Regions from separate parts of the Homo sapiens genome. Here regions 2, 3, 4, 5, 6 and 7 are each linked to region 1. Evidence: promoter capture Hi-C in 16 types of primary human blood cells and fetal thymus (Javierre and others, 2016). All regions are on one chromosome and are shown on one strand. The core of a region is centred on a gene start or on the middle of the fragment in contact, and the rest is flanking DNA. Distances in the headings are between cores, read along the strand shown.

Region 1 (3,489 bases), core at 663-3,162:
CCCAGTGATATTTGGGATCTGACTGAAGCCAGAGGCTCTGTAAAATCAGACCATAGTGGAAGTCCTCAGCCCCCTGGCCCCTTCCGCAATCTCCTCCCCCAGTCTCCCAAAGAGCCATTTCAACAGAGAAGGGAAATGACAAAGGGGCAGCTGGCCAGATAAGCTAGGATGAGAGCAGAGACTCAGTGTGTGGGTGTCCCTTCCTGCTTCCCCTTCAGGTCTTGGTTTGTTCTGAAGGGACGTTTTATAGTCACTATCCACATGCCAGTGTGAAATGGGCATCTATGACGTGGTCAGGGTGTCCATTCCTAATCATGGGGCAGATGCCACAAGCATTCAGAAAGGAGTCTGAAAGGGTGGCCACAGCCCCACGTGGTGTGCCCTGGAGGCTTAGGTTGGTCTGAGGTTGGCACCTCAATCTACACCAGAGCCCAGGGAGTCCCAGAGGCAAGTTTCACAGAATTGTCAAATGATCCCATTTCCTTGAGTCTGTTTTTTTTTTTGTTTTTTTTTGTTTTTTTTTTGGCAGAGATAATCGTGTCTTAAAAGTTGTTTTTAAATGACAATAAAACAAGCCAGAATGTCTTTTGTGCTGGAGTGTCTGCTGGCATTTGCCCCGTGCATGTATAGCTTGGTCTTGATTTGATTGGCACCCCTACTTGTAACCGCAGAACATCCCCCTTTCCCTTCCTGTTCTGCCCCCACTTTTGTCTAGAGCAGAAGGGACTTGGCTTTGGCCACTACCCATCCTTCCTGCTGCCACTGGAGGTGGGAGCCAGGCACTGATCTGTCTATGCAGAACCATCCCCCGTAGGATGAGGCCTGTCCTTACTCATTTCTCAAGAAACAAGATGCTTCCAAAAGGTCTGTCATCCTCCAGTTGAAGTCTGTGTGCCTACCAAGAATGGCCGGAGGACTCGCTGCTTGACGGGAGGGATGCTCCAGCTTGGTCTCCAGGGACAACTGTACCTGGAGATAAAGTCTGGATACCAGGGAGGGACAGAGATGCTCTTCCTTCCACAGTGTGGCCACTTGCTGGGCCATGTGAACCAGCAGAGGAGAGTTCCTTGGCTATGCTGTTGTTCCCCCGCTGTCCAGGGAGAATGGAGGTGGACTGAGGAGTGAAGTTTGGGCGAACTGCACAGAGCTGCTCCTCTTCACCCCGAAAATTTGTCTTTTTACAGAATCCAGGTTCTCCCCTCCCTCATCACTGCTGTTGCTTCCTTTGAAAGTCTAAACCACTGGAGGCTTCTTTTTCCTTCCTCTCTCCTTCCCCAGTTTCCTCTGTCCCAATTAAAACCAGGATGGAGAGCATTTGCTGGCTGGCCCCAATTATTGTACCCTTGCCCAAAGGGAGGGGCCTCTGTCGTGACCCCTCAGAAATCTGGCAGTCTGGGTTTCCACCTTTCCCCTATTTAACTCTCAGCCCCCACCCATCCCCTGGGGTTGCGGCTGGCAGGCCGGGACTTGCAGAACCAAATGGGCCAGGGGCCAAGTTCATTCTTTTGGGAGAGAGCAATGGTACCTTCCCTTAACGGGAAAACGAGAAATATTGAGGGGAAGATGGACTGCGATCCAAACGCCCTGGCTCTCAGGCCTGGACTCTAGGGCTTAGCCAGATGCCTAAACCGCCCAAGCCGAGAAACAACTTAGAAGACAGACATAACCCTGGGATTCAGGGAAGGCGCGAGCACCGCCCAGGACCTGGTAGGGTGCGAGCCGCGAGCAGTCCGGGAGGGAGCGCGCCTAGGGCGGAGCGTAGGCTGTGGGGGGAGGGCTGGGAGTCCGGGGCCGCCCCACACCCGCACTCCTCCCGGGTTTCTGCTCTCCGCCCGTGTGGAGTGGTGGGGGCCTGGGTGGGAATGGGCGTGTGCCAGCGCACGCGCGCTCCCTGGAAGGAGAAGTCTCAGCTAGAACGAGCGGCCCTAGGTTTTCGGAAGGGAGGATCAGGGATGTTTGCGAGCGGCTGGAACCAGACGGTGCCGATAGAGGAAGCGGGCTCCATGGCTGCCCTCCTGCTGCTGCCCCTGCTGCTGTTGCTACCGCTGCTGCTGCTGAAGCTACACCTCTGGCCGCAGTTGCGCTGGCTTCCGGCGGACTTGGCCTTTGCGGTGCGAGCTCTGTGCTGCAAAAGGGCTCTTCGAGCTCGCGCCCTGGCCGCGGCTGCCGCCGACCCGGAAGGTCCCGAGGGGGGCTGCAGCCTGGCCTGGCGCCTCGCGGAACTGGCCCAGCAGCGCGCCGCGCACACCTTTCTCATTCACGGCTCGCGGCGCTTTAGCTACTCAGAGGCGGAGCGCGAGAGTAACAGGGCTGCACGCGCCTTCCTACGTGCGCTAGGCTGGGACTGGGGACCCGACGGCGGCGACAGCGGCGAGGGGAGCGCTGGAGAAGGCGAGCGGGCAGCGCCGGGAGCCGGAGATGCAGCGGCCGGAAGCGGCGCGGAGTTTGCCGGAGGGGACGGTGCCGCCAGAGGTGGAGGAGCCGCCGCCCCTCTGTCACCTGGAGCAACTGTGGCGCTGCTCCTCCCCGCTGGCCCAGAGTTTCTGTGGCTCTGGTTCGGGCTGGCCAAGGCCGGCCTGCGCACTGCCTTTGTGCCCACCGCCCTGCGCCGGGGCCCCCTGCTGCACTGCCTCCGCAGCTGCGGCGCGCGCGCGCTGGTGCTGGCGCCAGGTAAGGCTGGAGCTCCGAACTGACTAAGGCGGGGCCAGCCACAGAAGGGGGCGTGTCGGAGACCACAGAAAGGCTTGGTCTCATCCCTGGGCCTGGGAAGAAGCCGACTATCCCTTGGGGTTCGAAAGTGGGTGGAGATAGGAGTCTCCGGGTTTGAGAAGGGATGAGGCTGAATCTTTGGTGCCCCAAGGATCCCCAAGGAGTCGAGTTCCAGGCCTCAGACCCAAGATGGAATGTCCATACCCTTCACCCTCATCCAAGAGCAGTGTGGGCTGGGATAGGGAGGGGACATGGGTCATAGGCTCTTCTAGGTAGAGCCAGGGCCCCGGCGTTGTGCTTTCCCACCCTTCTAGAGTTTCTGGAGTCCCTGGAGCCGGACCTGCCCGCCCTGAGAGCCATGGGGCTCCACCTGTGGGCTGCAGGCCCAGGAACCCACCCTGCTGGAATTAGCGATTTGCTGGCTGAAGTGTCCGCTGAAGTGGATGGGCCAGTGCCAGGATACCTCTCTTCCCCCCAGAGCATAACAGACACGTGCCTGTACATCTTCACCTCTGGCACCACGGGTGAGGGCCGGGCACCATACTTAGCTCCCCGAAACCAAGGCAGAGGAAGGCAGGGGTCTGCTCCCAGACCACTCCTTCAAAGCCCCCAGAGAGGATGCTGATTTCATTGGCACATCCTTTTTCTCCCCATCATTTCACTCCCCAGTCTCCTCACCTCCTACTCATTTCTCCACCTCCCCCAGACCACCCATATTTCCAGGACAGCCTGGTCTCGGTCCTCAGCTTCTGTCCTGCCTCCGCCTCTTTCTGTGGGAAA
Region 2 (3,489 bases), core at 171-2,670, 480 kb after region 1:
TGTATCTGCTTTGGTTTATGGTGCACACATGTATGCATGTGTGTGTGTGCGTACAATGTGTATGTATATGTGTGATGAGAATATCTGCCCTGTTTGAAACACAGCTTCTGGGCCTCAGAAGCCAAAGGCCAGAATGTTCATCTGGAATCCTTTTTGGTTTCTTAGATAATTATGACTATTATTTTATTTTTTGAGGCAGATCTTGCTCTTTTACCCAGGTTGGAGTACAGTGGAACGATCATAGCTAGCTCACTGCAGCCTTGAACTCCTGGGCTCAAGCAATCCTCTCACCTCAGACTCCCCAAGTAGCTAGGACTACAGGTGTGCATCCCCATGCCTGGCTAAGTTTTAAAAATTTTTTTAGAGACAGGGTCTTCCTATGTTGCCTAGGCTGGTCTCAAAATCCCAGGTTCAGACAGTCCTCCTGCCTCAGCCTCTCAAATAACTGGGGTTATATATAGGCCTGAGCCACTACTCCTGGCCCCAAGAATTATTTTCTCTGATTTGATTAAATCCCTAACTCTGAGTGTGTTTGCTGGTCTGGCCTGGTTAGAGGAAAGTTTCCTGACTCAATCTGGGACTTTGAGAATAAGTGGCTGACATTAGTAGCTTTTTGCCCTAGTGTATCTTCTGTGACCTTCAAGTATTTGGTACCTATTAAGATGAAGGATATATGGAAACGTTTTAGAAGATACCTGTTCCTGCCCTCATAGACAAAGTCTAGATAAATTTCATACCGATGACACATCCAAATAACACAGTTACACATTTTTAATTTGTGGTCACTACCTTAAAACCCTGACATTGGAGAAAAGTGAAGTATTCTTTCCAGAGGAGATTATTTTTAAGCCAGATTTTGAAGAGTATAAGAGACAGAGACTTGTAGAATAGAGAGTAAAACTGGTTGTTCGTGTATGTTTTGTGTCTACTCTATTGGTATCAAGAAGCCAGCCTACTAGAATCAGTAGTATTTAGCTCAAGGAAAGCTTCAAGACCTTTCATGAATCATTTAATCTCTGTGTACTTTACTGCTTTTTCCTTAAATAAAATTGAAGGAAATAATCCGTGTCCTGTTCTAACCCAGAATGAGGATGAATGTTCTGTTGAATTAGCTTGTCTCTTGGCTCCTTGTTTTGCTAACATCATGACCAGTTCCTGTTATTGCTATATGTCTGTATCTTTCAGCCACAAGTATATGGTTATGATGACTTGCAGATGCTTCAGACAAGATTTCCATTGGTGAGTATGTGGGATAGAGCTTTGGAAAAGAAAGTAGTCTTAAAATTAGTGTTGGGAGAATTATCTCCGTCACAGACATAGCTCTTTCCCATCCCAGCCCTCCATACACTCTGATTTAAGGCATATTAGAATATAGGGATTTGGGGGAGGGTTTCCAACAGAAGATAACTTTTTTTTTTGAGACAGAGTCTTTCTCTGTCGCTCAAGCTGGAGTGCAGTGGTGTGATCTTGGCTCATTGCAACCTCCGCCGCCTGGGTTAAAGCAATTGTCTGCCTCAGCCTTCCGAGTAGCTGGGATTAAAGGTGCCCACCACCACCCCCAGCTAATTTTTTTTGTATTTTTAGTAGAGGCGGGGTTTCACCATCTTGGCCAAGCTGGTCTTGAACTCCTGACCTTATGATCCACCCGCCTCTGCCTCCCTAAGTGCTGAGCTTATAGGCATGAGCCGCCGCACCCAGCCTTTTTTTTTTCTTTTTTTAAATCAGAGTTGTGGCATCTTAGTAAATACATTTTAACCTATTCTATAGCCCAGTAAAGTACTCTGGAGCACTCAGGGTGCTTTCTGTTTGTCCCAGACACTTTAAATTATCGAATGATCTGTTTTCTCAGTAGAATAAGCTTGGTATAAACTGATAGGGATGACACCTAGAGGGTTGAAAATATTGGTCCTCGTGGACTTTGATGTATTCTCAAGTGGGCATACCCGTAGACCTTGTCTGACTGTGCTCATGGCCAGGCAGGGGGGACAGTGTATGCAAGAGTAATGTGGAGTTTGTGCTAACTCTAGCCAGCTTAATTAGTGACTGGATAAATTGCACAACTCTCACATTCTTCTGTTTTTTCCTCCGTGGAAATAGTACTCATGCTGGGGAATGAGTGACATTGAATCTCTGCTCTTTTTTCCCCTCTTTTCTAGGATTACTACAGCATCCCATTTCCCACACCCACTACTCCGCTGACTGGGAGGGATGGTAGCCTGGCCAGCAACCCTTATTCTGGTAGGATTGGGATGGGACTAAATAAATAAAAAGGGAGATAGTGTTGGGATTGATGGCAGACACCTGATTGGTAGCAAGAAGGGATGTGATAAATCAGGATTGGTAGATTCAAAATCCTGCTAAAGTTGGGCATGTCATGGCTTTTCCTATTCATCCCACTTTGTGTTGTCTCCCTGTGATTTCTAGATGATATCTTAGCCAGGCATGGTAGCACACACTTGTAGTCTCAGCTACTTGGGAGGCCAAGGTGGGAGAATTGCTTGAGCCCAGGAGTTCAAGACCAGCCTGGGCAACATAGCAAGACCCCATCTCCAAAAAAAGTGATATCTTGACTTAGTTTCAAGCCATTTGCTAGCTTTTTCCAGGAAATACAGTGGTTGAGGTGGTCTTCTCTGCTCATCTCTGCCCCTTTATGCTACTACTCACAGTGGCAATCTCACTGCCTTGCCACTCCTTCTTTTACCTGACCTATCATTGTCCTCATTGACTTACCGTTTTCCCTGATCCATCGTTGTCCTTCAAGTCCAGCATGGGGTATTCCCCATGGAGGAGAAGAGGGGAGGGAAGAAGAGGGAAGATGAAAGAGAACACAAGTGGGCAGAGAAATTGTGCAGGTGCCTTATTCCAAGAGCCTCCTGCCATAGCATTGCACAGTTATTCAACATTAGTCCTTGACTTGCAGCAACTGTGCTAAGTGTATGCTGAGCAACAATAATTGGAGCCACTAAGAAATGTAATTCAAGGAATTGAACTTTAATAGTCTTTGAACAGGATCTCCTGGAATCATGTGAAATCAGAAGAGGTAATTCTGTATTGGTATTGGGGTGAAAGAGGCAGGTACATTTAGCTTCTCCTGTCACAGGTGACCTCACAAAGTTCGGCCGTGGGGATGCCTCCTCCCCAGCCCCGGCCACAACCTTGGCCCAACCCCAACAGAACCAGACGCAGACTCACCATACCACGCAGCAGACATTCCTGAACCCGGCGCTGCCTCCTGGCTACAGTTACACCAGCCTGCCATACTATACAGGGGTCCCGGGCCTCCCCAGCACCTTCCAGTATGGGCCTGCTGTGTTCCCTGTGAGTACCTGGCTTTGGTCACTCCTTGTGGTGAAGGATCCTAGCCCTGGACACTATCCTAGCTGCTTTTAAGGGTCAATGACTTTAATAATGGATGAGGAGGAACAGTTTCCACCTCTGGCCTGTTTTTGGCCTGATGCAGGGTGGTGGGGGAATGGGGCTGGAATTGGT
Region 3 (3,489 bases), core at 521-3,020, 460 kb after region 1:
TCCTGATAGCACTCCATATTGATTAGATATGAATGCTCTACCCTTCTATAGCATTCCTGGGAGATGGTCGGGAAGAAGAAGGGAGTCTCAGGCCAGAAGGATGGTGGCCAGACGGAATCCAATGAGGAAGGCAAAGAAAATCGAGACCGGGACAGAGACTATAGTCGGCGACGTGGTGGGCCACCAAGACGGGGGAGAGGTGCCAGCCGTGGACGAGAGTGTATGCATGGGGCTTTATCAAAACCAGCTGTGGGTCAGTAATGTCTAGACTCTAGGGATGTGCCAGGGCCCTGCTAGTCAGGACCTAGGAACCATTATATTATCCTTTTGCTTTTCTTGCCGTCGTCTGTTCTGAGACCTTGACATCTCTTGCATGTGGCCTTTTCTACCAACTGCCACCAGTCTGGCATGAGATTACCCTGTAGTCATTTATAAAGTTAAATTTGACTTGCAGCTCTCCATTAAGGCACATTACCATTCCCTGAGAAACATGTTCCCATCCTTCCAGCTCATTTTCTCTTCGTTGTTTTTTTAATTCCCAATACCATATTACATACCATTTATATATTTGTATATATCCTGTTGACTGTGCTCTGGCCATCTGTGGTTTGGTTTTTTTGTTGTTGTTGTTGTTTTAATTTTTATTTTTATTTCAGTTCGAGGTCAGGAAAATGGATTGGATGGCACCAAGAGTGGAGGGCCTTCTGGAAGAGGAACAGAAAGAGGCAGAAGGGGCCGTGGCCGAGGCAGAGGTGATCAGTTTGTTGGGGGATGGATATTGGGGGCAGGTTACTCTTTATTCATTAATGGTCTGCTTTATTTTTTTTTTTTATTGGAGGTAGTCTCACTCTCACCCAGGCCGGAGTGCAGTGGCACAGTCATAGCTCACTGCAGCCTCAGACTCCTGGGCTCAAGTGATCCTCCTGCCTCAGCCTCCCTAGTAGCTAAGACTACAGGTGGCCGCCAGTATGCCTGGCTAATTTTTTTTGAGATGGAGTCTCGCACTGTCACCCAGGCTGGAGTGCAGTGGCGCGATCTTGGCTCACTGCAACCTCTGCCTCCCGGGTTCAAGCGATTCTTCTGCCTCAGTCTCCCAAGTAGCTGGGATTACAAGCGTGCGTCACTACGCCCAGCTAATTTTTGTATTTTTAGTAGAGATGGGCTTTCACTACATTGGCCAGGCTGGCCTCGAACTCCTGACCTAAAGTGATGCGCCCGCCTCGCTAATTTTTAAATGCTTTTGTAGAGATGGAGTCTCAATATGTTGCCCAGGGTGGTCTCAAACTCCTGGCTTCAAGAGATCTTCCTGCTTGGCCTCTCCAAGTGCTGAGGTTATAGGTGTGAGAGACAGCACTTGGCTCCAGGGTCTACTTTGTTTAAAAACAAATTAACATGAAGTCTAGTTAGTTAATTCCTGAGGTGTCATGCATATACTAGAGATTGCAGAAGGGGAGAGTGAGAAAGAAGGTAGATGTCATTTCCTCTAGTCTTTATTGCTAGTATTGTATTTGCTTGAGGACATGGTAGTCTGAGAGCAAAAGAAAAATCTCTCAACAGTAATGATTGTCCTACTCTATTACTGATGTGTAACATGGGACAGAGAGAAAGAACATCTGATAGTATCAACCACTTTTTATTCCAGAGCTGCCTCAGCTGGCAGGGTAGTTTTTTGTATTTTTGAGGCAAGGTTTCACTGTCACCCAGGCTGGAGTGCAGTAGTGCGGTCTTAGCTCACTGTAGCCTCTGCCTCCTGGATTCAAGTGATCCTCCTGCCTCAGCCCCTCAAGGAGCTGGGACTATAGGTGTGTGCCACCACACTCAGCAAATTTTTGTACTTTTTATAGAGATAGGGTTTTGCTCTATTGCCTAGGCTGGTCTCGAACTTCTGGATGCAACCAATCCGCCCGCCCTCAGCCTTTCAAAGTGCTGGGATTACCACCGGGAGCCACTGTGCCTGCCTGGCAAGGAAGTTTTATATCAACTTCTAAAATACATCTCTCTTCTCTTTTTCTCATTCTTTCTTTAGGTGGCTCTGGTAGGCGAGGAGGAAGGTTTTCTGCTCAAGGAATGGGGTAAGTTTCATTGATCTAGTGTCTTAATTTTTTTTCCCTTAAAAATTACTGTAGGCAGCCTTAACCAAAATGATCAGAATGATTTCTAGACTGGTCAGAAAGATATGGGGACTTAGGGCTCATTTCTTAGGGATAAACCTTTACCACCTGGATCATTACCTATATTTTATATATCTTTATTTGAATCAATATACCTGTTCTTTTCTCAGAATATCTTAGATATATGTTGAGATTATACCATGAAATTTTGGGTAGAGTGATAAGTGAGAAAAAGTAGATGACACACAGGATTATAGAATGGGGCCATGACAGATTTGTACTAGGAAGGATGCAGTCAAGATTTTGATTCTTTGAGTTAATATTTGCCAAAGCTGCTTAGAGGTCAGAGACTCTTAAGTTTTATTTTTTCCAGAACCTTTAACCCAGCTGATTATGCAGAGCCAGCCAATACTGATGATAACTATGGCAATAGCAGCGGCAATACGTGGAACAACACTGGCCACTTTGAACCAGATGATGGGACGAGTGAGTGACCATTTATCATTCATTTCTTGTCTCTGGGAATCTAAGGAAATAGTTTTTTCTGATTATACTTACATTAAAACGTGGAAGAATAGTGTTTGGTTATGGAGATAGGGTGAGAAAGGGCTGGCAGTTGTATTACTGTGTGTACTGTTTATGTAACGTGCATATGGGCACATTACACATGTTATTTCGCTTAATGCTGCTTGATATTGTATGAAATAATCATTATTTATCATCACTTTCCAGATGACAAAACTAAGGCCGAAAGAGAGGTTATAAATTTGCTAGTATTTGAACTCAGCATTGTTTGACCCTGAAAGTCCATGCCCTTTCAACTATGCTATGTCACTGCTATTAGGTCCAAGTGTATTTTCTAGTGTTTATGTTAGGGTAGTGTTGCCTTTTGAAAAGATAGCCAGAATTAATCAAGCCACTGCTTGTAAAGATGAACAAGGCCTAGAATCAAAGTCCACACTATCCATTTATTTGTTTTCTGTTACTGAGATAAGAATATCCTTTTTTTCCCTTTATTTTTGGGACATGTCAGTATCTGAACAAGAAGATTTCGAAATCTCTCTAGCCTTTCTGGTGCCCTGTTGAACAGCCTTCTTGGTGTGATGGAGTATTCAGGGTTTGAATAAGATTACTTTTTTGTTAACTGACTTTGGTGCCTGCGTCTGGGCTGGATATAAATGTTTAAGGATATGTTAAGCTGTGGTATACACCTAAGATGTGTTTGGGGGTGGATACGTGTGCCACTTTCAATAAGAGCAGTTCATTTTAGTAAGAAAACTCTGGAGTGCTTTCTTGAACAGCTGCCTCATTCTGGCTGAGCTAACACATGAGAGCCTAAGGCTTTTTTTCCTCTTACAAAGGGGGATGAGTAGGGCCT
Region 4 (3,489 bases), core at 554-3,053, 430 kb after region 1:
CTCTACTTTCAGAATGGATCAAAGAAAACACGCAGGGGTTGGATAGAACACATATTTGAATACCTACTGTGTACTAGACACAGCCTCCCACTCCTGTTACTAACTACATTATACCCTTGTTACATCAAAAGCCTTTCCCAGTAAAAGATGCACTTATAGTAAATTGATCTGGAAACTTCATCAAACTTCAACCCAGCCCCTCCTTCCAACTCTGCATACCTCTTCTACTTTTGTCATCTTTTCCACAGACATGTCTATAGATTTGCTTGATACAGTCTGAGGAGACTGACAGGCTCCTCTGTTTAGTTCAGTAACCAAGGTTTCAGTAGTCATAGTAACATTTACACCTCCAACAATAACCCTGGGCCTAGGAGTTGATTGGCCACCTGGCCTGTTGCCCCAGAAACCTTGAGAGAATCCTTGTTCTGCAGCCTTCTGTTGGTGACACAGGCATCTATGAGCAAGGGCCACAGTCCTGATTTTAGGATTTCTTGTGCTAGGGTCCCAAGGAGTATGTGTATGGTCGTAGGTCCAGGGTATGCACACAGTCCCACCAATTCTCTGGAGGCAAATCCTCATGCCCTATACCCTGTTAGAAATGTGCAGATAACATTATCAAATGCCTGTTTTATTAAAAGACAACTATAAAGGACTGATTCATACGTTTTATTTGATAATAGTTCATTTTATTAAATAATTTATAAAGTCAGACCAGTGCATTGGGCTTGTTAGGGGAAACCATTCCTTCCTACTGTCACATAGCCTGGCAGATTATATCAGGTGCCAAAACATTCCCTTTTATTCAATTTATTAATGAGAGTGTGGAATTAAAGTAGATCCTTGCATGTCAGGAAAGCTGCAACACATCTGGTTTAAGTGGAGCACAAAGGTAAGTTATTCCACATTCACCAACTTCCCCACTTGACCTCCCACCAGTTCCTGTCTGCTTTTTCCATCAATCAACTCTAAGATGCCCTAAACCCAAACAGTTCCCATTCAACTGTGCACAAAGGTATAGATATGGAAGACATCTCACTCCAACTCTCACCTTTGGAATTAAATAAACCTGGAACAGGGAAGGTGAACTATGGCTGAAACCAAGTGAAGATTTTTAAGAAGCTTTGACAGAAACATTAAGAATAACACCTGAATGCAAATCCAGAAAAAAGCGCTACTGGGGGAAAATAGTCTTAGCCAATGTTCTAAAAATGCTCATAAGGAAGGGTTGGGGAATTACCCTTTAGACACAAGCTCTAAGAACTCTGGATACAACGGGAACTTGGATGGATACAGTCTGGGCCTGCTGGGCCAGATGTTCCGAGGGCGGCCCGGCAAGCAGCCTGTCTTGCACATTGCAACTGACTGGCTTAATCTACGGCAAGAGTCCTTCAGCTCCGTCACAGAGTACTCTCCAATGTGTTATAGTTATCCTTAAAGCTCTTCAATTCAAGGAAGTGCTTGGCACGTTTACTCTTCTGACTGGAGGGGAGGTATGTCACCTGGATGGTTGTTGGGGAGACCTCAGGGGACTGAGTTAGGTCTTTGGCTGCTGACTGGTGATGTCGCTGAGAGCTCCCAATTCGTGCTTTAACCCTGAAGAACAGAGAGGGGAGGTCATTGACAGAATGAGGACTAATCAAAGAAATCAGGGCTTATCCCAGGCCATAAATGCAGCAATAGTCACAAATAGTTATTTGTGTCCTATCTGTCCTATTTTGTAAACTAGTTACTAAAACCCCATCTAGTAGCTTAGAAATACAAGAGGCTGAGCGCGGTGGCTCACGCCTGTAATCCCAGCACTTTGGGAGGCCCAGGCAGGTGGATTGTTTGAGGTCAGGAGTTCGAGACCAGCCTGGCCAACATGGTGAAACCCTGTCTCTACTAAAAATACAAAAATTAGCTGGGAGTGGTGGCGGGTGCCTGTAATCCCAGCTACTCGGGAGGCTGAGGCAAGAGAATCACTTGAACCCAGGAGGCAGAGGTTGCAAGCCAAGATTGCGCCACTGCACTTCAGCCTGGGTGACAGAGCAAGACTCCATCTCAAAAAAAAAAAAAGTAGCAGAGAGGCTGGGCATGGTCACTTATACCTGTAATCCCAGCACTTCAGGAGGCAGAGGCCAGAGATCGCTTGAGCCCAGGGGAGTTTGAGACCAGTCTGGGAAACAAAGTGAGACCCTATCTCTGCAAAAAATTAGCCAGGTATGGTGGCAAGCACCTGTAGTCCTGGTTCCTCAGGAGGCTGAGGCAGGAGGATCGCTTGAACCCAGAATTCGAGGCTGCAGTGAGCCATGAATGTGCCACTGCACTCCAGTCTGGGCGACAGACTGAGACCCTGTCTCTCTCTCTCACACACACCCTAAAAAAGTAGCAGCACTCCAGCCTGGGTGACAGAATAAAGGCCCTGTTTGGGTACCCTGACACACACCTACTCATACCAAAAACAACTAGCAGCAGAGAAACCAATTTCCCAGAGTTCTTGCCTCTGGCTCAAGCTTTTTTTTCAGAGACAGGTATCCCCAATATAGGTATCACCTTGTTTTGCAGATTAGGAAACTAAGGGTCCAATAATTAGCTTGTATGAGGTCACAAAACTAGTTAAGTGACAGACCTGGGATTCAAACCTAAGTTTGTCAGATTTCAAAGCCTATACTCTTCACTAAACCCAATGAACATTCCTAGAAACTACAAATCAAACATAATTTTTTGTTTTTGAGATGGAGTCTTTTTCTCTGTTGCTCAGGCTGGAGTGCAGTGGCACAATCTTGGCTCACTGCAACCTCTGCCTCCTAGGTTGAAGCGACCTGTCTCGGCCTCCCGAGTAGCTGGGGATTGCAGGTGCATACCACAATGCCCAGCCAATTTTTCTATTTTTAGTAGAGACAGGGTTTCACCATGTTGGCCAGGCTGGTCTTGAACTCCTGACCTCAGGTGATCCACCCGCCTCAGCCTCCCAAAGTGCTGGGATTACAGCCGTGAGCCACCATGCCTGGCCTTCAGAAATAATTTTTAAAAAGATTGTGGTAAAATACATGTAACATAAAATTTACCATCTTAAGAATTTTTAAATGTATGGTTCAGTAGTGTTAAGTATATTCACAGTGTTGTGCAACCAACCTCCACATTTTCATCTTGCAAAACTGAAACTATACCCAGTGAACAACTCCCTATTTCCCCCACTCTCCAGCCCCTGCAACCATCATTCTACTTTCTGTCTCTGAGTTTGACTACCTAGGTATCTCATATAACTGGAATCATCTAGTATTTATCTTTCAAAGAAAGTGAATTTTGAACAGGCTTCTGCTGACTTCTAGACCAAATGCCCTTTTCCAGCCTTTCTACATGTTCATTTTCATCAGTGCTCTAAGCAGTTTTTTTTTTTTTTTTTTTTGAGACAGTGTCTCACTCTGTTGCCCAGGTTAGAGGGCAGTGGCATGATCTTGGCTCACTGCAACCTCTGCCTCCCAGGCACAAGTGGTACACGCACCTCAG
Region 5 (3,489 bases), core at 548-3,047, 430 kb before region 1:
TTTGGGGGATTTTTTCGTTTTGTTTTGTTTTTTGTTTGTTTGTTTGTTTGAGACGGACTCTCACTCTGTCACCAGGCTGGAGTGCAGTGGCTCAATCTCGGCTCACTACAACCTCTGCCTCCCGGGTTCAAGCAGTTCTCTCATGCCTCCCTCCCGAGTAGTTGGGACTACAGGAGCGCGCCAGATGGAGTTTCACCATGTTGGCCAGGATGGTCTCGATCTCTTGACCTCCTTATCTGCATGCCTCGGCTTCCCAAAGTGCTGGGATTAGAGGCGTGAGCAACTGCGCCCGGCCAAGAGAGAATGGGTTTGTTTTTGTTTGTTTGTTGGTTTGTTTGTTTTTTGAGACAAGTTCTCGCTCTGTCACCCAGGTTGGAGTGCAGTGGCACGATCTCATCTCACTACAACCTCCATCTCCTGGCTTCAAGCAATTCTCCTACCTCAGCCTCCCTCCTGAGTAGCTGGAACTAGAGGCATGTGCCACCACACCCAGCTAATTTTTGTATTTTTAGTAGAGACGTGGTTTCACCATGTTGGCCAGGATGGTCTCGATCTCTTAACCTCGTGATCTGCCCACCTAGGCCTCCCAAAGTGCTGGGATTACAAGCATAAGCCACCACCCCTGGCCAAGAGAGAGTAGTTTTTTTTGTTGTTGTTTGTTTGTTTTTGAGACAAGTTCTTCCTCTGTCACTCAGGCTGGAGTGCAGTGGTGGGATCTCGGCTCACTGCAGCCTTGAACTCCTCAGGCTCAGATGGACAGTAGGTATTTTTTAATTCCTATTATGAGACTTTAGGATCACCCTTCTCGGTTGCTTTTTGGCCCAGGGAAAGAAAACTTACCCCAGGCCTGGATACCCAGAGCAGAGAAGACAAGAAGCCACGGCAGCATCCCCACGTGGTCCCAGGACACCAATCTGGAGAGTGTGGATGGCAGCCTGAGAGAGACGCTGACAGTTGTTAACATGACCATTCTCAATCTGCAGAGCATCCCAAACCCTGACTGCAGTGGGTGCCATCTGCCTCCTCTACCATCCTGTGGCCTCCTGAGGGCCAGCACCTGCTTCAGTCTTCTCAGGGCCCCCAGCATACAGCAGGTGCTCAGCATCCCTGTCCTATTATTACCCGAGGAACTCAATTTCATCACGTGCCCACGGCGTGCAAGGCTGTGTACACACTTGCACATGCAGTCTTATTTAATTAGTCCTCACACTAATCCTGTCATGTAAGACTGTTAACCCCCATTTTTACAGACAAAGGAAGTAAGATCCAAGAATGGTACAACCGAGAAATCCAGACTCATATGGATGGGTCTTATGCAGAGAATCCCTTCCCAGCTGGGAATATGCCAGATGAGGGAGATATAGGAGTAGGAGGGGTTCCTAGTTCTAGGGCAGAGGAAATCCAATCCTTAACACTCTTTCTGGTGGATTCCAGTCCCTTTGCTGGAAGAGGGCTTCTGAAGAAGAAACACATACTCAACTCACAGATATCTGTGGGTCCTGTGCTGTCCCAGCCCAGCAGGTCAGGGTGCAGTCAGCTTGCCCCTGATTGGCCAGCAGCTCCTTCCCTTCCAGACTTGGCCTCCAGGCCCTGCCCTTCTTCACCAACTGGCGCCTTCTCCTCCAGCCTTCACTCTCCCTAGCCCTAGAGGGCACTCCCTCCCTGGGAATGGAGCACTCGGGCTCTAGCTTCCCAGAGAGAAGAGAGCCCAGGATCCCTAACAAAAGATGGGGAGAAGGGAAGACAGAGGGCAAGGCTCTGAGCCAGCTCCTTTCACAGCACCTGGAGAAATGCAAGTGGGACCAGACTCAGGCTGAGAGCACCTGGGGACCCGCCCTGTGAATAAGCCCAGGTAGCTCCTCCCTGGGAAAGGGCAAGATTGCCCAACACTCCCGAGAGCTCGTCCTCAGCCCCAACCTGGGAAAGCCTGCAGGGCCTGAGGGTTGTGTCTGCAACATCTAGAAACTTCCTGCCTGTGAAGTTCTGCTCCAGGAGCCTGAAGACTGTGGATTGAAGTCACTCACCAACACCACCTTTTACCAGGGTCATGAGCAGGGTCAGGATGGACAGAGAGAAACTGGGAGGTACAATCTCAGGAAACAGCTCACGATGCCTAATTCTGCCCCAATAGCTTACATGTCTGCCCATCATCCTCCCGCCTGCCACTCCCCACCGTCGGCATCAAGCTGCCACCTACCACAGAAAGCCTCCCACAAACCAAGAATCTCCAGCTCCTCGCCATGTTCCAGTTGTCACCTAATCTCATTCCACATTCTGCAACCTGGACTTACAGCCCTTGAGTCTTCACAGAGGAAACTCTGCATGACACTTTCCAAGAACGCAGTAGGATGCAGTCTCCACGGGGACCTGCAGAGCCTCTCATGTCCCGGAGGGTGGGGCAGCCTCCCTAGACACTTAGGAAGTGCCCTGAATCCAGAACAGTTGCTCTCAGTGAGCTGCAGTCCCACTCTCAGACTGGGCTCCCCAGGAGCGCTCTCTGGATGGGGCCCATTGAGCATGCGCCAGGTCTACCTGGCATTCATCCCAGTCATGCACCCAGACCCAGGCTGGAGCTGTGTGATGAGCAGGGGCTGCTGAGCTCTGTCCTGGGGTGAGGGTGAATGTGGGGCAGAGCCAGAGACAGAGATGAAGGAGACCAAGAACTGCAGCCTGGGACCAGCACTGTAGGGACCCTGGTAGTTTCCCCAGCCTGGCAACATGCTGTTTCTCCATGCCTTTTGCTGGCCGCCCATCCTAAATAAGTAGAACAGTTCTCAAAATGAGAAGGTTTCTGGGCTTGCATCCGGGGCACCAAGGACTTGAGGAGACTCGGTTCCCCTTTTTGGAGCGGCTTGGGGAGGGGAAGCCCAAGAAGAGATTGGGTGGTGGCTGCCAAAGGGGACCAACAGATTCTCTGCCCCATCCAGAGACCAACAGATTCTTGAGGACTAACAGACTGAGGGCTGTCCGGGACGAGGGCATCGGGAGGGAGGAAGAGAGCAGTGTGGGTTGTCCCTCTCTGATTCTGTGAACTCAGAATCCCGAGAGGACCTCCTAAGTCCTAAATTATCTGGCCCCCAGCCCCATCTCACTCCACGCTGCCAGAGCAGGCTCCCAGTGCTCTCTGCCCCACCTCCCACCATCTCAAGACCCTTCCCAAGTGCCCAGCCTCGCTCCCCACCTGCGCCCAGAGGCTCCACTTCAGCCTGGCATCTTTGGAAAGGGCTCCGTGACTAGTTGGGACTGGTAGAGGCTCAGAGTCTCTCTTCTCCATTCTAGCACCTGAATGAATTGTAATTATAATCTCCTCAAGAGCAGTTCCCAAGTCTATCTCTTTACCTGCCTTTAATACTATCATTATTTATATTTACATTTTTTTGTCCTCTGTCTTAAGCCTCCCTCCAGCTGTGAATTTCACAGAAGTGGGAATTTACTTTATTCTGTAGTCTCAGGGTTTAGCTTAGTGTCTGGCATAATGCTGACACATGT
Region 6 (3,489 bases), core at 602-3,101, 410 kb before region 1:
ATGGTGATGAGTTGCACAAAGAAAATAAAGGGGACATGCTAACAGGACTGCTTTGTGGGCCGGCAGCCAGGCAAGGAAGCAACACTGGAAATGAGGCCTGGATGACAAGAAGCCATCTCAACGAAGATTTCACCCCAAACACATTGGAGAGCCTTTGGAGGGTTTTAATCAGGCAGGTGATGTGATATGATGTATCTGGAGGAGAATATTCGGCAGCTGTGTGGAGGGTAGCCTGGAGAACCCCAGAGTAGAAGCATGAGGACCAGTTAGGAGGCTGATGAGCCTGGTCTTATGTCAAATAGTGTGCTAGATTCCCTGCCTTCACAGAGCCCTCAGTCCAGTGGGGGCACAATTACCAGATATTTTCTCTATAATACAATGTTGTGGGCAAAAGACAAGCAAAGGCAGATGATAAGCACAAGATGCCCAGAGAGTACAGAAGGCACTTTTTGCCGTCTTATTGGCTGTGGTGTGGGGGAGGGGGTAGAGGGGAGCCGGGGGGCAGGGGTAGAGGGAAGGAGAGAGAAGGAAAGCTTGCTTGGACTAATGCCCAAGCTGAGTTTTCAGAGGGCAAGAATTGCACTTCCATGTGCCCAGTGCTGTGTTAGGCAATAAAAGAAATCAGAGAAACATAGGAAGTAAGGGCTCTTGCCCTCCAGATTTTTAGTTTGCTTTATCTTAAAACTTGAAAGGCTTCTTGTGTTGGCCAAGTCAAAATGATGAGACCTAGCCATTCTCACATCAGGGGCTTCTGATAGTCATTTTGTTGAGCCCAGATCCTTCTCCTGAGCTCCAAGAGCCTGATGCACAGGCTGGCATGGCTTGGCTTGTGGTGTACTGGAAGCCTGCCTGAAATATCCTCCTGAGGGCAAAGTATTGCACATATAGCACCCAAAAGAGTGTTATTGGTGTCCTTTATCACTCAGTAATGCCTTTGCCCAGACAGCTTTGTCAGGCTCATCATTCCAGCAGCAGCCAGTGAGCAGAAGAGGGAGGTCAGCCCCAAATTGGAAGGGGCCTAAAGTCTACTCTTGATGGAAATACATGAGGAAGATATGAACAGGTGAGCTCCCTGGAGGATGTGACGGTTGAGTCAGGCCATGGTGTATAAGCAGGTGTTCTAGAGCCAGAGAAGGGCCCAGGTAGCCTAGTGTCTGCAACAGAGCAGACACAAAAAAATGTTTGTGAATGAAGGGATGAAAAGGCACTTCAGACAAAGAGAACAAGAGGACAGCAGGAGCAAAACCCAAGAAGTTTCAAAGCCGTGGAGAAACTAGAGACTGTTCTAGAGTGGCTGGAGAATAGGGCCTCTGGGGGTGGACAGATGGTGACAGTGAGACAGGGCCTCCAGAAGCAACAGGGCCAATCCCTGGGCTCTGTGGATCTAACAGTGCTTGTGTTCATTTGCTTGTTCCACGACACCAGCCACAGTCACAGGGTCTAGTCTCTGTGTATTCATGAAGGGACTGGAGATCACTTGTGCAAACAGCACACTATATACATGAAAAAACTGAGGCTCAGAGAAGGGAAGCCATTCGCCCAAACTCACAGAGCCAAGCAGTTGAGCTGGGAGTCTAACCAAGCTCATTTGATTCCAAGTCAAGGGCCCTTGTCATTGTCCTTAGGTGCCGCTGACTGATGGATTTTGACCAAGGTTAGCAGCCCTTAAAATTTTTCTAGCCATGATTTAAGTTCAATTTGTGGTTCAGTGGGCTATTTGGAAACAAAATTACAGCTGGTGAATGTTTTCACAATAGCAAATGTGCTGGACTTTTGCTCTCATCGGTTAGTTGTTGGTTTTTTTGTTGTTTTTTTTTTTAACAGATTCTAATACTACTATATATATCAGAAGTGGTCCCAAATCAAGGTAAGTGCATCAAGGGAGTGGCCTAGTTTGCAGAACAGCTTGGTCTAGTTCAAAGGCCTTTAGAGGAAGATATTGCATAACTTCCCTTGGTTCCTTATCTTACACTGGTCAACTTTAACTATCCAAGCCACCCCTAAATATAACCTCAGTCTGCTTTGGTTTAAAATAATCTATACCTATTGTGCTGTGGCAGAGGGTGGGTCAGCTACAATCGTTACCTCCTGTCTAAATTATTATCTTACTGTTATTGCTAATGTTTGTTGAGTGCTTACTCTGCATCAGATACTGTGCCAAGTGCTTTCCATGTGCTATGAGATGACCTAATCTTGGCCAGTCGCATGGCTTACGCTTGTAATCCCAGCACTTTGGGAGGCCGAGGCAGGCAGATCACGAGGTCAGGAGATCGAGACCATCCTGGCTAACGCGGTGAAACCCCGTCTCTACTAAAAATACAAAAAAATTAGCCTGGTGTGGTGGCGGGCACCTGTAAACCCATCTACTCGGGAGGCTGAGACAGGAGAATGGCGTGAATCCGGGAGGCGGAGCTTGCAGTGAGCCAAGATCGCGCCACTGCACTCCAGCCTGGGAGACAGAGCAAGACTCCATCTCAAAAAATAAAAAAATAAAAAAAGGAAAAAAAGGAGATGACCTAATCCTCTCACCAACTCTGGGAGAGGGGTGCTGTGGTTATCCCCATGCTACTGATGGGGAAATTGAGGTTTAAAGATTCTAAGTAACTTGTTCAAGGTCTCACAGTTAGTAAGTGGCAATGCTAGGATTTGAATACAGAAGCATAACTTCTAGCCTCACACTCTCGACTGCTACTCTTTAGCACCAAGGGACATCCTCCTTCCTACCCTCTCACTAAGTGATGTTCTCCTTCTAGACCCTGCACCAAGTTCCCCTCTATCCAACTGAGGTCTCTCAGAGCACTAACACTGGGTGACACCTGAGTATTCACCTAGTCTAAAACTTTCCAAAATAGATGTTTAAAATTCCTTTGAATTCTTCAAAAATAAAGAAAACACAGACCCAGAGAGGCAAAGTGATTTGGCCAAGGTCATGCAGTGAGGGAAGGCTTTCCCCAAATGCTCTCACATTCTCATTCACATTTGGTGATAGAAGCCTTCCAGGCTTGGGCCATTCCAGGACTCCCTTCCCTGGGTCACACATTCCTTCCTTTTCTGCCAATCCCACTTCACCCCCATCTTCAGGCTCTCCCCTCAACCCCATCTACAGGCTTCTACTTTCTCGCACACTTTCCACACAACTGCAATTGTTTCCTTTGATGGGGGTGGTCAGCAAAGCTTCACCCCAAGACCATGTGCCCAGGACTCATCATTTGTCACTTGTCCTGAATCCCAGCTTCCCATACACTGTCTCCACATGGCTTCACAGTAAATAAGCCGAAAGTCAAACCCACTCTCCTGCAGTAAAAAGCCCCCTTTCCCACTTTTCCTCACATCTGTCTTGCCTGACCTCCAGCAGGGTATCTAACCTTTCTAAAATTCTTCAATTTTGCCACCTGGCCTGCCCCTGCTGCTGAAGAAGATCCAGAGGTGGAACAGGAATTAAAAGAAATTAAAGAATGTGTAAGCAGAAACTCAGTTGTATGTAAGAAA
Region 7 (3,489 bases), core at 491-2,990, 400 kb after region 1:
GCTATAGAGCGAGACTCTGTCTCAAAAAAAAAAAAAAAAAAAAAATTAGCTGGAGAACTTTAAAAACATCAATGCCCAGACCCCTCTTGCAACTGATTCTAATGGAACTGGGATGAGATCTAAGCATCCAGTTTTAAATTCCCCAGTGATTTCCCCCCTCACCCCTACCTATGATTCTAATAATGCAACCAGCGTTGAGAAGGCTTACTAAAAACAGATTGCCAGGCCCCACATCCAAAGTTTCTGATTCAGCAGATCAGCATAGGAGCTGAGAATGTGAATTTTTACCAAGTTCCCAAGTATTGCTGATGCTGCTGGTCTGAGACCTTACTTAGAGAACCTCTGTTTTAGAGAAATTAATCTCACAAATAGAAGCTTATGATCCAGAAAGTAGAAGTCATACTGGTGATCCCATTTTAAGGATCATTAGGCCAATTTGTAAGGAAATACCAATTACAAAAGGGTCACAACATCTAAGTTACCCTTACTGTCTTCAAGGGGACAGAATATGCAGAATAGAAAGGAGATCCTGTGTGATGGAGTTAGTATTTTATTTTTATTGACTGATTGACACAGGGTCTTTCTCTGTCACCCAGGAGTGCAGTGGCGCAATCAGAGCTCACTGTAGCCCCAACTTCCTGGGCTTGAGCCACCCTCCTGCCTCAGCGTCCCAAAGTGCTGGGATTACAGGCGTGAGCCATCACACGCAGCCAGAATTGCTATTTAGAAAACAGGTCTATAAGGAAATCTTGATCAGAACTATTATGAACTTTTAAAATCCACACTCCATCAGGCTTCCCTACACACCTCTCACTCTCATCAGCAGCTTTTTCAGCTTCTTCCAGCTTTTGCAGGGCAGTGGCCAGGCGCTCCTGAGCACGGTCCAGCTCTTCTTCAACCAGCTGGATCCTACGGTTCAAGGAGGCCACCTCAGCCTCAGCCTGCATTTGAAGGAAAGAATGGACAAGGGAAGCAGAGGCATGGAGAAAAGAAGAAATAACTATGACATTAAGATCAGGGTTGACTACCATGAAAAAGCCAGAGTCTCGCAGGGTAGAACTTGTCTTAGCTCAGCTGTTAAAAGATCTAGCAGACATAACTTTATATATATATATTTCCTCCCTTTCCCATCAACGAACTCCCATATGTTCCACAGGAAGAGTGTTTTAAAACTCAGTTCCTTGCCCAGCCCAGTGAGTTAGTACCACCCACTTCCTGGACTCAGTTCAAATTCCTCAACACACTGGAGTCAGAAAAGAAAGTCAATGAAGGGTTCCTTCTGCCTGAGCTCTGGCTTGGAGGCATGTCTCATCCTCAGTAACCTTTCAAGTGTCTCATAAAGCAGGAAAAAAAAAAAAAAAAAAGCAAGGTTTCTTAAAGAGGGTATCCTGACTGGGTGTGGTGGCTCATGCCTGTAATCCCAGTATTCTGGGAGGCTGGGGCGGGTGGATCATGAGGTCAGGAATTTGAGACCAGCCTGGCCAATATGGTGAAACCCTGACTCTAATAAAAAATACAAAAATTAGCCAGGTGTGGTGGCGCGTACCTCTAGTCCCAGCTACTCGGGAGGCTGAGGCAGAAGAATCCCTTGAACCCGGGAGGCAGAGGTTGTACTGAGCTGAGATTGCGCCACTACACTCCAGCCTGGGCAACACGGTGAAACTCCATTTCAAAAAAAAAAAAAAAAAAAGAGGGAATCCTGGATTACCTATTAATTGCTGCTTAACTCAAACCGTTATTCCTATGATCACTTTACCCTAACACATCAGAAGAATAACTAGCCAAGGGAATGTCTTCCAGAATAGCCTTCCAGACTGGAAAGCAAAAGAATGGAATATTGTTGGGATGCCTACTCACCAGCCCTTCAACTTGTGCCCCCGTACTCCTTTTTTAAGTTGGCTACAAGGAGCTGCTTCTGGCTAAAATTATCTGCTTTGATAGCTTTACAAAAAAGAAAGAACATTTCCACCACACCCACTACCATTCCTCCAAATTTCTGAATTTTCTCCTTTCTATTCCTCCAGCCATCCCCTTAGCTTCACCCTCTAATACAGCGACAATCTTCCCCCTGGCCTCCATCTCACAATGAAGTATATAGGTTAGAGTCCAAGTAAACCCATCCTGGATGGGTTTTCTCTAAGAAACAAGGAAAGAAGGAGGCAGCCTGCAGGTGGATGGATAAATTCTAATGGTAGGAAAACCTCTTTCCATGACTGCCTCCCCGCTACCTTTACTGGTGGGAGGTACCCTGACTGCAACAGTATACAAGAATTTAATATGCCCCGCACACCACCCAGTTCAGATGCTTATCCAAGTGCCTGGTAAACACGATCTCTCTTCTATAGCCCAGATTGTGCCTGAATTCTATTACCCTGATTTCTTCCTGGCAGGCAGGAGTTGGTGCAGCTATAGAAACAGCCTGGGCCACTAGCTCCGATGAGGAAGAATATAGACCAAAAGACTCCTTTTTAACCATCAGGACTGGCACAAAAACTTCCACATACAAACATGAGAAGCTGAAGAGACTAGGAAGGGAAGCAGAGGGCTGGGGCTACAATCTAGCCACCAGGCAAAGAAAATCGAGAAGTCAACATAAGCTGAAATCATTAAGAAACCATTTGTGCCTCTAACTACACTACTCAAAACACCACAAAGACAAGTATTCTCTGCTTCTGCCTCTTCCAGAAAAATAGATGTTCTCTGTAACAACACACATTTCTCCTCACAAACCCAACAAGGCCATGGATCAAGAGCAAGTCAGGCTATCAGGCAAGACCTAGGAGACACTGCTAGTAAAATGACTTACCCCCCTCAGACGAAAAATACAACTAGATTTAGAGGAAGCTCATGAAATGTAAGACATCATGCAGCTCACCAGTAGTTACCCAAACTGGAGTAGAAGATAACAGGCTATGGGGCGGGGGTGTACAGTTGCCATGACAGCAAGCTGGCTCAGGCAGTTTCTCCCACAAATCAGCATTTACAATAGAATTCTTAGCAAGGCTGAAAAGGGAGAGGGGGAAAACACATCTTGGTGCCCTCCTAAGAGCATGCACACATGAACAAGCCTGTATCAAAAGCAGAACCTGAGATGGGAGTCCTAGAAAAAGCTTCAGAGACCCCCTCCAGGGTGGAGTGGTAGGGAATGGGACCTTGCCTTTCTCTTTTCTCCTAGCACAGAGGATCAGTTCTCTTTACAATGAAACAAAAGCCTGCAGAATCAAGATCTGATACTTTGTTTAAAGGAACAAGGAAGACAAGCTGACTTTTCCCTCATGAGTCTATGCACAGTGCCTGTCCCTTTCAGGTCAAATAATACCAATGGGTACCAAGAGATTGAACAGGCCTACTTTTTGCAGACCAGGCTACCTGTGGCCCTGGGAAACGTTAAGCTCTGCACTTTCCTAATCATCTTAGGTTTTAGCATGCCCATCCAGATGCGGTTTTGGTGTTTCAGCTGACCTATCTCTGCCCAGTGTGGAGGATATA

What was found. Contacts are between HindIII fragments. The CHiCAGO score rates a contact against its expected background, and 5 or more counts as called.
Region 2: a contact is called between a fragment that was not itself captured here and the fragment with the promoter of SLC27A3 in region 1, in 1 of 17 cell types (naive B cells). The highest score is 5.1, in naive B cells.
Region 3: a contact is called between a fragment that was not itself captured here and the fragment with the promoter of SLC27A3 in region 1, in 1 of 17 cell types (naive B cells). The highest score is 6.5, in naive B cells.
Region 4: a fragment that was not itself captured here is called in contact with the fragment with the promoter of SLC27A3 in region 1 in 1 of 17 cell types (naive CD8 T cells); the score reaches 5.0 in naive CD8 T cells.
Region 5: a contact is called between the fragment with the promoter of PGLYRP4 here and the fragment with the promoter of SLC27A3 in region 1, in 1 of 17 cell types (neutrophils). The highest score is 6.9, in neutrophils.
Region 6: a contact is called between a fragment that was not itself captured here and the fragment with the promoter of SLC27A3 in region 1, in 1 of 17 cell types (neutrophils). The highest score is 5.0, in neutrophils.
Region 7: a contact is called between a fragment that was not itself captured here and the fragment with the promoter of SLC27A3 in region 1, in 3 of 17 cell types (M0 macrophages, M1 macrophages and total B cells). The highest score is 7.9, in M0 macrophages.

Annotation. Positions count from the first base shown.
Region 1 is chr1:153,773,495-153,776,983 of GRCh38, forward strand. SLC27A3 (solute carrier family 27 member 3) reads left to right here and starts at 1,913. Exons shown (of 10, transcript NM_024330.4): 1 at 1,913-2,670; 2 at 3,024-3,233. The coding sequence starts at 2,004. It overlaps INTS3 (integrator complex subunit 3), which reads left to right. Exons shown (of 30, transcript NM_023015.5): 30 at 1-1,314. RefSeq lists an enhancer at 2,314-2,980 and a silencer at 2,349-2,540. The HindIII fragment of the contact is 7,576 bases long and covers 1-3,489 here.
Region 2 is chr1:154,257,792-154,261,280 of GRCh38, forward strand. It overlaps UBAP2L (ubiquitin associated protein 2 like), which reads left to right. Exons shown (of 27, transcript NM_014847.4): 21 at 1,186-1,239; 22 at 2,157-2,238; 23 at 3,101-3,318. It overlaps SNORA58B (small nucleolar RNA, H/ACA box 58B), which reads left to right and starts at 1,936; the gene lies at 1,936-2,071. The HindIII fragment of the contact is 872 bases long and covers 985-1,856 here.
Region 3 is chr1:154,234,540-154,238,028 of GRCh38, forward strand. It overlaps UBAP2L (ubiquitin associated protein 2 like), which reads left to right. Exons shown (of 27, transcript NM_014847.4): 5 at 52-220; 6 at 657-752; 7 at 2,027-2,072; 8 at 2,485-2,597. Among named protein-coding and RNA genes, the nearest start is that of UBAP2L, 15 kb to the left of the region's middle. The HindIII fragment of the contact is 7,636 bases long and covers 1-3,489 here.
Region 4 is chr1:154,206,056-154,209,544 of GRCh38, forward strand. It overlaps LTAP1 (lipid transport auxiliary protein 1), which reads right to left. Exons shown (of 7, transcript NM_001098616.3): 7 at 665-1,593. The coding sequence ends at 1,398. CFAP141 (cilia and flagella associated protein 141) reads right to left here and starts at 278. Exons shown (of 4, transcript NM_001010979.3): 1 at 220-278. The coding sequence starts at 252. The HindIII fragment of the contact is 1,373 bases long and covers 1,118-2,490 here.
Region 5 is chr1:153,347,044-153,350,532 of GRCh38, forward strand. It overlaps PGLYRP4 (peptidoglycan recognition protein 4), which reads right to left and starts at 1,798. Exons shown (of 9, transcript NM_020393.4): 1 at 1,485-1,798; 2 at 841-935. The coding sequence starts at 889. The HindIII fragment of the contact is 10,086 bases long and covers 1-3,489 here.
Region 6 is chr1:153,366,719-153,370,207 of GRCh38, forward strand. No RefSeq gene overlaps it. Among named protein-coding and RNA genes, the nearest start is that of S100A12, 7.2 kb to the right of the region's middle. The HindIII fragment of the contact is 2,641 bases long and covers 532-3,172 here.
Region 7 is chr1:154,175,308-154,178,796 of GRCh38, forward strand. TPM3 (tropomyosin 3) reads right to left here. Exons shown (of 10, transcript NM_152263.4): 3 at 808-941. Among named protein-coding and RNA genes, the nearest start is that of TPM3, 15 kb to the right of the region's middle. The HindIII fragment of the contact is 2,735 bases long and covers 374-3,108 here.